Linked DNA regions of Homo sapiens: all the other regions are linked to region 3. The links are contacts of gene promoters, found by promoter capture Hi-C in blood cells and fetal thymus (Javierre and others, 2016). All regions are on one chromosome and are shown on one strand. Each heading gives the region's core, a stretch centred on a gene start or on the middle of the fragment in contact. The rest is flanking DNA. Distances are from core to core; before and after follow the strand shown.

Region 1 (2,853 bases), core at 323-2,822, 77 kb before region 3:
ATTTCCTACAAGAAATATCATGGTATGCATTCCAAAGAAAACACACTTTTCAGTCTGAGCCAAAACTAGCTCCAAATAACTAAGATACACTTGCTGCAAAGATACAACAAATATTCAGCTTTCCTAAGCTCCTCTGGAAACAAAGGTTCATGGCTTTCTCCTCTAAATCACAGACGCTAATTTGTGACACGTGCTTCTCCCAAGACCCGGTCATCCAAGTTCAGAGGCGATCCTCACTAGGATCTGAAGTAGGAAGAGATAGGGCCCAGTAAGCACAGACTTCAGAAAAGCAGCTGAATTACCGACAGCCCAGGGGTAATGCAACATTCTCGTGAAAGTTTATTCATCCTCCTAAAGGAATATGGATGACTGTGCTTTGGGATAAAAAAACAAACAAACAAAGGTAAGATGTTTTCTGCTTTTTACTTCCTGAACTTGATTCATAAAACAACTGTCATCCATCTATATAAAGATGCAGTTTTGGAGTATATGACACAGTCACCATGCTTATCATAATCAACTGATAGCTATGTAACAGAAACTTTATAGAGTTTGCAAAATACTGAAAAAATAAGGTTATCCTATCTATTCTCTAAAGTTACTGATAATAAAAGGTAAAAAAGATAACAGTAGGTCTGCCTGAATAGGAGAAATAACCAAAGTTATCAGACAACTGAAACTACAGCAGTTTATTGGTTTCACTGAAAGATCAAACATTTAAGATCAAACATTTAAGATCAAACATTTACCAAATGTGGTGGCCATATACTCACCGTATCTAATAGCTCAATAAATTTGGAGAAGTAATAAAGCCAGCAGGTACGTGCCATCTGCAGAAGCACAAATAAATCTAAATTTATTTTGTATATGGAAGAAAAGCTTATATTTTTAAATTTTGGTAAAATATGCATACCATAAAATCTGTCATGTCAACCATTTCTTAGTGCACAGTTAAGTGGCATTAAGTACCTTCACACTGTTGTTCAACCATTACCACCATCCATCCATAGAACTTTTTTCATCTTGCAAAATTGAAGCTACACCCACTAAACTACATCCCATTCTCCCTCTCTAACCCCAGCTACAATTCTGCTTTCTGTGTCTATGAATTTGACTATGCTAGGCACCTCATATAAGCCAAATCATGCAGTATATGTCCTTTTGTGACCTAATTATTTCACTTAGCATAGTGTTCTCAGGGTTCATCCCTGTTGTAGCATGAGTTAGAATTCCCTTCCTTTTAAAGGCTGAATCATATTCCATTCTATACATATGCCACATTTTGTTTATCCATTTATCTTTTTCTTTTTTTGAGATGGAGTCTCACTCTGTCATCTAGGTTGGAGTGCAATGGTGCAATCTCGGTTCACTGCAACCTCCACCTTCTGGGTTCAAGCGATTTTCCTGCCTCACCCTCCCGAGTAGCTGGGACTACAGGCCCATGCTGCCATGCCCTGCTAAGTTTTGTATTTTAGTAGAGATGGGGTTTCACCGTGTTGCCCGGGCTGGTCTCAAACTCCTGAGCCCAGGCAATCCACCCGCCTCAGCCTCCCAAAGCGCTAGGATTACAAGCGTAAGCCACTGCACCTGGCCTTGTTTATCCATTTATCTATCCATGGACTCTTGGGTTGCTTCTACCTTTTGGCTGTTATAAATAATGCTGCTGTAAACATGAGTATACAAACATCTCTTCAAGTCTCTGTTTTCAATTCTTTTAGGTATATACCCAGAAGCAGAATTGCTGGATCTTATGGTAATTCTATTTTCAATTTTTTGAGGAACCACATGTGAATTTATTTTTAAATCCAAGAAATTAAAAAAGAAAAGCACCAATTTTCATTTTATAGAAAATTATACATGTGATTTTTTTTATTCTTGTAATTGTTCACTTTCTCCACCACAACACACACAATCTGATAACTGAGTCATCTGCTTATTCTAAGTTTACGTTCAGTGTTACAAACAGTTCACAAAATTTTAACATTGATTTTGAATTTCAAGTTTTTCCAAAGAGAAACTTACCCTCAAAGCTGTGGGTGACCGTGAATAGTCAACAATGTCACATCGAAATGAATAACCTATACCCCAGCCAGACATCACAAACTGCAAGAGAGCACATGCATATTAAGAAAGGAAAGCATTTTCCCAACAGCCACAACAAAGGTAGTTTTGATAGTGTCTCTTCATTACATTTTCAGCTAAGTCAATAGTCAGTGCAGAGGAAAAGGTAGCTGGAACAAATACAAAATGAACATGCTTGATATCAAAGCTTGATATCAAGAATTTTCAAAACCACAAACTCATATATTATTTATATAAACTGTGCTCTGACTAAAATGCTCATCTCTTGGGATGATTATTCTAATATGGTGAAGAATAAAACACTTGGAGTGTTTTGCTTAAACAGCAAATACTGGTAGGTGACTTATCTTAGGTTCATCTATGTATGTGTGAGTGAATGTGTTTGTGTACTCTTAAAGGGAACACTTGGATCTGAATCAGTCATTTCTAGCAATTTCCAGTCTTTCTACTTAGTCAATAACTAAACATGCAAACCAAAATGCCTCAATGTACTCATAAGATAGCTGCGACAACTGGGCTTTTCCCATCATTGGCTGGTGAGTGTGATGTGAGGTGGTAGTCCATGGCTCAGATATTATTAATAGTTTTACTGTGGATTCACAAGACAAGTAAAAGAGGAAAATGCTCGTTAACAATAAAAGTGCAATCTGGCAGGCCTTAATTCCAACACACCCACAAAGTGATCCAAGGCTGATGTGACAAGAAAGAGCCTATTGTTGATAAATCTGAAGTGTAATTCAAAGATTATAAAGATTATACTGACATTCTTTC
Region 2 (3,058 bases), core at 58-2,557, 93 kb before region 3:
GGTATATGCAGATTTTCTCTGTATCCCTGCCCTTCCCCAGAGTACTTAGCTACATGGCATGATGCTTTGGAATGACAGACAATAACTACAGTCTATTACACCCAACTGCTTCCTACAAGAAGGAAATACTGGAAAATGCTGGTGACAGGGAGCCTCGGGCTCCATGGAAGGGATTCTTTTCCAGAGGCTCTCATAACCAGGCTGATCATGTTACTCCTCCATCAAACATCTTCAGTGGGTCCTGGTGAACATTATATTTTGTTTCATCAAAGGTAACTACTTAATTTTAGGATAATATATATTGCAAATCTGTAATACACTTTTCACTTGTCAACAGGTATGCCACTTTTGTTTTTATTAAAATTTGATGTAGGCCTGTCTTTTTAAACTGTACTGTAAATTTTTTAAGGGCAGGGACCACATCCAGTACATTTTAAAGTTTCTCATGACACTTAGATGCAGTAAGCACCCTCAATACTGACTGACTACCAGTGAAAATCATGTCAATTCTGTCATTTTGGTTCCTAACTTAAATAACATCTATACAGAACATTATAATACATACATTGCTTTTTAAAAACTGGACAATTTCAAACATACACAAACGTAGACAGAAGAGTATAATAAACTCTTATTAAGTGAACCCATTACCCAACTTTAACAATTATCAACACCCCCTTTTCTTTTTACTAGAGTATGTTAAAACGAAATCAGACAACCTATCATTTTACATATACATACTTCAGTGTATGTATCTCACATATAAGGACTTTAAAATATATACATCTGCAATACAGTAATAATATCTAATATTAATAGTTTGTCTTTTAAAATTTAGTTCATGTTCAGTTATATCTGATTGTTATAAGAATGTCCTTTTATGATTTGGTTTGTTCAAATCAGGATTCAAATGACATTTGGTTAGTATATCTTAAGTCTTTCATCTACAAAAGTTGCCTTCTCTGGTTTTCTTTTTTTTTTTTTAATGTCATTTATTTATTGAAGAAACCAGGTCATTTGTTCTATGGAATTTCCTACATTTTGGACTTGGCTGATGGTATCCTTTTTGTGTCTTTTAACTCTTATATATTGTATTTCCTGTAACTAGTAGTTTAGATACAGAGGATTTATTAGATTCAAGTTCAAAAATTTTTTTGCCACGAATACCTCAGAGTATTATAGTGTATTATGAGACAAAACATCTGGTTGTCCCACTTTGAATGATATTAAGATTGATCACTGGGTTCAGTCATATCAGCACAAGCCATCCCCATCAACCTTTCATCTAATTGTTTTAGCAACCAGTGATCATTAGCTAGTCCCATTTATTAGAGACAGTGGGGATGGCAAAATATTCTTTTTTGTTAATTCTTTCCACTTAAAAAACCTTGCCTACTAACATACCACCAATTTTGAAATTCTGTACAACCTAAACACATAACTCAAATTCAAATTCCTTCATAGAGTCTTCCCTGTCTGCTAAGTGGCAGAACTGTCACTCATCTGGCACCTATCATCTACTGCCCTGTCACATAATTTCATCTGCCAGTTGGTAAGCTCCAGGAGATCCCAATTATGTTCTAAGTATCTTTGTATCCCAAAGATGAACACAGCACGTATACAAGAAATATGTAAAATAACTTTGATTGGTGAGTATTCAAATTAAAAGTCACCAACCCATGCAAATACATGCAGCTAGATTCCAAAATGAAAAATATACACACGTATACATGCAATACCACAAATTTATTATAATACACAGGGAAAAACAAACTCAAACTTTGACAACATCCACAGAATGTTCCAGTCTTTAAAAAGTTAGCAGAAATAAAGGGTAATGGAAAGAATATAATCTCGTAATTTTATACTTAAGGCTGTAAATGGCAAAGTCCCATAGATATTTAAAAATCTATATTTGTATTTATTTATAATATAGATATAGGCCCTCAAGGATTCATAGAGATTTATGTAATAAACTAGATTTTGGAACTATTTATTTTGTTGTTGTTGTTGCTTGTTAGGTAAGCAAACCCAAACAAATTAAGTCCTGAAAAGTGGGATGAAATCCCAAAGGAACTCTATGTGACCACACAGAACTCTTTTAATAAATATGGCCCATACAAATTCCATATCCAGTGAAAATCATTTTGATCCACAATCATGTTGATGTTTCTATGGAGGATACTTCTAGCAGCTGTGATTTCTTTTGTAGCATTCTGGCTCTCCACTTCTATTCATATAATTGAGTATGTGTTTTATTACATGTTAGCTTATAGGCAAGTTAAACATTTTAAAGACTACAGGGAGGTTAGGAGAGGTTGTATGATGAAGGTCGGAAAGTATGCAAGAAATAAACTCTCCTGTTTCATCTCTTTTATTTTTGCCTCATTTTGGTCTCTATACTACTTGGGTTCTTTGGAAATGGTGTGATTTCTAACAGCACCTAGCATACCTTCTCATTTTAGCACAGGTTAGATATGAAGAGCCAAACCTGGAAAACAGTTAAGGAGTCCTGAGACCTTTCCAGTGGAATAAATTAGAGCAGCAGTTTCATTTAGCTGTGCTCTTTTGTCCTTCATTCTTTATTTTCTAAAAATATAAAATTATGGCCGGGCACAGTGGCTCACCCCTGTAATCCCAGAACTTTGGGAGGCCGAGGTGGGAGGATCACCTGAGGTCAGGAGCTCGAGACCAGCCTGGCCAACCCTGTCTCTACTAAAAATACAAAAATTAGCTGAGCATGGTGGCGGGCACCTGTAATCCCAGCTACTTGGGAGGCTGAGACAGGAGAATCACTTGAACCTGGGAGGCAGAGGTTGCAGTGAACCGAGATTGTGCCATTGCACTCTAGCCTGGGCAACAAGAGTAAAACTCTGCTTCAGAAAAAAAAATAATAAATTATATATATATATGTAATTACTCCCATTTATCAACCTTTACCTTCTCATGCTGTAATCAAGTAAAATCACAAAAGATCACTTAAAGGCAAATAACCTTATGAATCTGGTAAGTGTAAACATAAAAATACTTACTGTACACAGAGTACAATAAGTATCTC
Region 3 (2,857 bases), core at 327-2,826:
CTGGAGACAGAACCCCAGAGCTGGAATCTCCTACCGCTGAGATGGGTGTGGCCTTGGGCAAGTTACTTAACCTCTCCGTGCCTCAGTTACCTCATCATTAAAATGAGAATAATATTAATATCTACTTCCCAGGATCGTTGTGAAGATTAAAAGCTTTTACACAAGAACTGACATCAGTGCCTGGCACCTAAGCACTGATAAATGTCTGCCACGGGGTGAGGGGTGGATTTTATTTAGTTCTCGGTGACCTTGGGGAGACCAATTTCTGATCAGTAGTACGAAGAGAAACTACAAAGAAAGGGAATGAATAAGCGGGTGCGTGGTAAGAACGCAGAGGCAGCCACCAGGTATCGATGACCCTTTCGGAGCACGTAAGCAATAAAAGTGAGGAATGAAATAAAGGGTAATCCGAGAGCACAGGGTTAAGTGAACATGCTTTCCGAGGGGAGATCGTAGCAAGAGGGAAAAGACCACTGGCGAGGAACTCGGGTCGCTAAAACTGTTCTTCAGTCGACGCGGGACTAACTACACTGGGAGCAGGACAGGTGTAAAGACCCGCTCCTTCCCGTCCCGAGTTCCCCAGGGAGCTCCAAAGAGCGCTCTGTCCGCACCGGGTGAAGTTTGAAACAGCTCTGACTTGAAGGGGGAAAGCCCATTTCCCAACGAACCTGGGAAAGCCCATTTCCCAACGAACCTGGGAAAGCCCATTTCCCAAAGAACCAACGATACCTGGGACGACAAAACAACAGGCTTTCCTGTTTCCATCTCCGGCACGACCTGTTCCACGGCTCTGTATTCATCAGCCTCCTCCCGGCCAGCAGCAGCCACCAAGACAGGATGCGGCTCGGGGAGCCGAAGGGACAGCGCCCCAAGTTCATCTGGCCGCGGGAGCAAAAAAAGCGCCCAAAGGGGAAGGAAGGAAACAGAAAGAAAGGGGCTCCGGAATTTGGGGGGGTGGCTAGCGAGGCCAGACCCCGGAGCTGGGAAAATGACCTCCGCGTCCAAGGTCGAGCAGGTCCTTCTCCCTCCCAGTCCCGCCGGCGAGCACCTCTGCCCCTCCCGCTCCGCTCCGCAGGGCCAGCGCCGCGCGGGACCCCAGTCCAGGCTCCGCTCCGCAGCGCGCCCACCGGGCCCGACCTTCCCTTCGGGATGCTGCCGGGTGGGGGCTCCCGAGAAGGCGCAGGTGAGCGCCGCGGCCCCGCGCTCCGGCGAAAAGGGCCTCGGTCCTCCCCACGCGCAGGCAGCGGGGACAGAACTTCCCAAGCGCCTCCCGAGCCCAGGGAGGGCCTGGCCCCGCTCCCGGGGCCCCCGCACCCGGGTCCCACTTCTCGCGCGCCGCGCCCAAGTTCCTCCATCCGGCCACTCCCGACGCCGTTCCCCTCGGCTCTGCCTCCCTCCCCAGTCTCTTCTCCTCCGCGCGCCGGGAAAGTTTGGCCCCTGCCCGCCGGCCTGGAACCCCGCACTCACCGCACAGGGAGCGGAGCCGAAGCGCCGGGCGCGCGCGGGAGAGAGGGCGGCGACTGGCAGCGCGAGCGCGGAGCTCCTCACAGCGGCCCCCGCTGTCCCGGCCGCCGACTGGGTTGGAAAGGGGAGGAGGCCGCCGGGTGTCACCTGCCCGCTATCCCACCCAGCCGCGTGACGCGCGCAGCGCCGCCCCCTGCCCGCCGCCGCCAGGTGCCCGCCGAGGGCCGGAGGGAGGAGCCGGGGCGGCGCGAGGGGGAGCGGCCGGGAGGGCGGAGGCCGCCCCGGCCTCGCCTCCGCCGCGCGCCCTGACTCTCGGGACTGGGGCCCACCGGCCGCTCTGGGTTAGCGGGGCTGGTCGTGGCACCGATGACCTTTCTTTCCGAGAGCAGATGCCATCACTTGGGGGACATCTCCAGGCTGACATAGCAGAGTGGAAATTGTCGTCATGCGTGACTCATTTGGGAATGAGCAGTAGAAAAATCCGAAATGAGGAAAACCTAGCTGAGGCTGGAGGCGGAGAAAAAGGGGACTCCTTGCTTCTGAAAGGGTATTGGGAGGGTTAATTCGCATCTGAAATGGAAGCCAGACCAAGAGGAGAAGGCCCTGGGAGGGGAAGGCCGACTTGGTTCAGCTCCATCCCCTGCTTATAAGGAATAAGAAACTAGAGAATTGAGGCAGCCTGGGGGGCATGGGGAGAGGACTTTTAGAGCAATGAAGATTAGATTGTATATCATCTAACTTTGTTTCTGGTAACAGCAACTGCTGCAGGAAAAAAAGTCTAGAAAATTCATTTCTCGTTACCTACTGTTGGATTGGAAAGTGGGGGTGGGGATGAGCGTTCGGAGTGTGCACCTGCGCTTGGTTTATTTATTTTTTAAACGTACCTGGCCTTGTGTCTGGTAATGATCCTCCTAATCGCTGGTATGATTTGGATCATCAATAGCTGAAAGGCAAAATAGGGGCCTAGAGAAGTTCCCTGCTTCTGAGGCAAAACCAAAGGCTGGTGTTGAACTGTCCAGAAACCTAAAAAACAATAATCATTTTTAGTTGCAGTCCTGACCCAACCACCTCACAAATGTGGGCTTTGAGTTTGTATTGCGAGTTCTCAGCATGGAATCAAGAAACACAAAAAGGGGCTGGGAGCGTCAGGACCACCAGAGAGGATGGGTAGGGAGAAAAAAAAAATTGGGGTGTCGGAAGCATATTTTCCTCACATGTAGGGATTGCCTTCGGCAGCTTAATCCCACTACATTAAACAAGAGGTTTTAATGTTTTTATGTAAAACTTCGAAAGTGTCCATTGAAAGAAAAGCAAAAAAAAAAAAAAAAAAAAAAAAAAAAGCTTAAATTGCAAAGAATCTCGAAGTCAAAAAAACTAAAGATTTCTCCTTTCT

What was found. Contacts are between HindIII fragments. The CHiCAGO score rates a contact against its expected background, and 5 or more counts as called.
Region 1: a contact is called between a fragment that was not itself captured here and the fragment with the promoter of ELOVL7 in region 3, in 1 of 17 cell types (megakaryocytes). The highest score is 8.2, in megakaryocytes.
Region 2: a contact is called between a fragment that was not itself captured here and the fragment with the promoter of ELOVL7 in region 3, in 1 of 17 cell types (megakaryocytes). The highest score is 6.4, in megakaryocytes.

The regions. Positions count from the first base shown.
Region 1 is chr5:60,765,801-60,768,653 of GRCh38, forward strand. It overlaps ELOVL7 (ELOVL fatty acid elongase 7), which reads right to left. Exons shown (of 9, transcript NM_024930.3): 5 at 2,023-2,103; 6 at 774-830. Among named protein-coding and RNA genes, the nearest start is that of DEPDC1B, 67 kb to the left of the region's middle. The HindIII fragment of the contact is 1,390 bases long and covers 878-2,267 here.
Region 2 is chr5:60,750,064-60,753,121 of GRCh38, forward strand. It overlaps ELOVL7 (ELOVL fatty acid elongase 7), which reads right to left. Exons shown (of 9, transcript NM_024930.3): 9 at 1,728-3,058. Among named protein-coding and RNA genes, the nearest start is that of DEPDC1B, 51 kb to the left of the region's middle. The HindIII fragment of the contact is 6,191 bases long and covers 1-3,058 here.
Region 3 is chr5:60,842,693-60,845,549 of GRCh38, forward strand. ELOVL7 (ELOVL fatty acid elongase 7) reads right to left here and starts at 1,577. Exons shown (of 9, transcript NM_024930.3): 1 at 1,468-1,577. RefSeq lists silencers at 1,249-1,308, 1,319-1,478, 1,499-1,798. The HindIII fragment of the contact is 2,652 bases long and covers 152-2,803 here.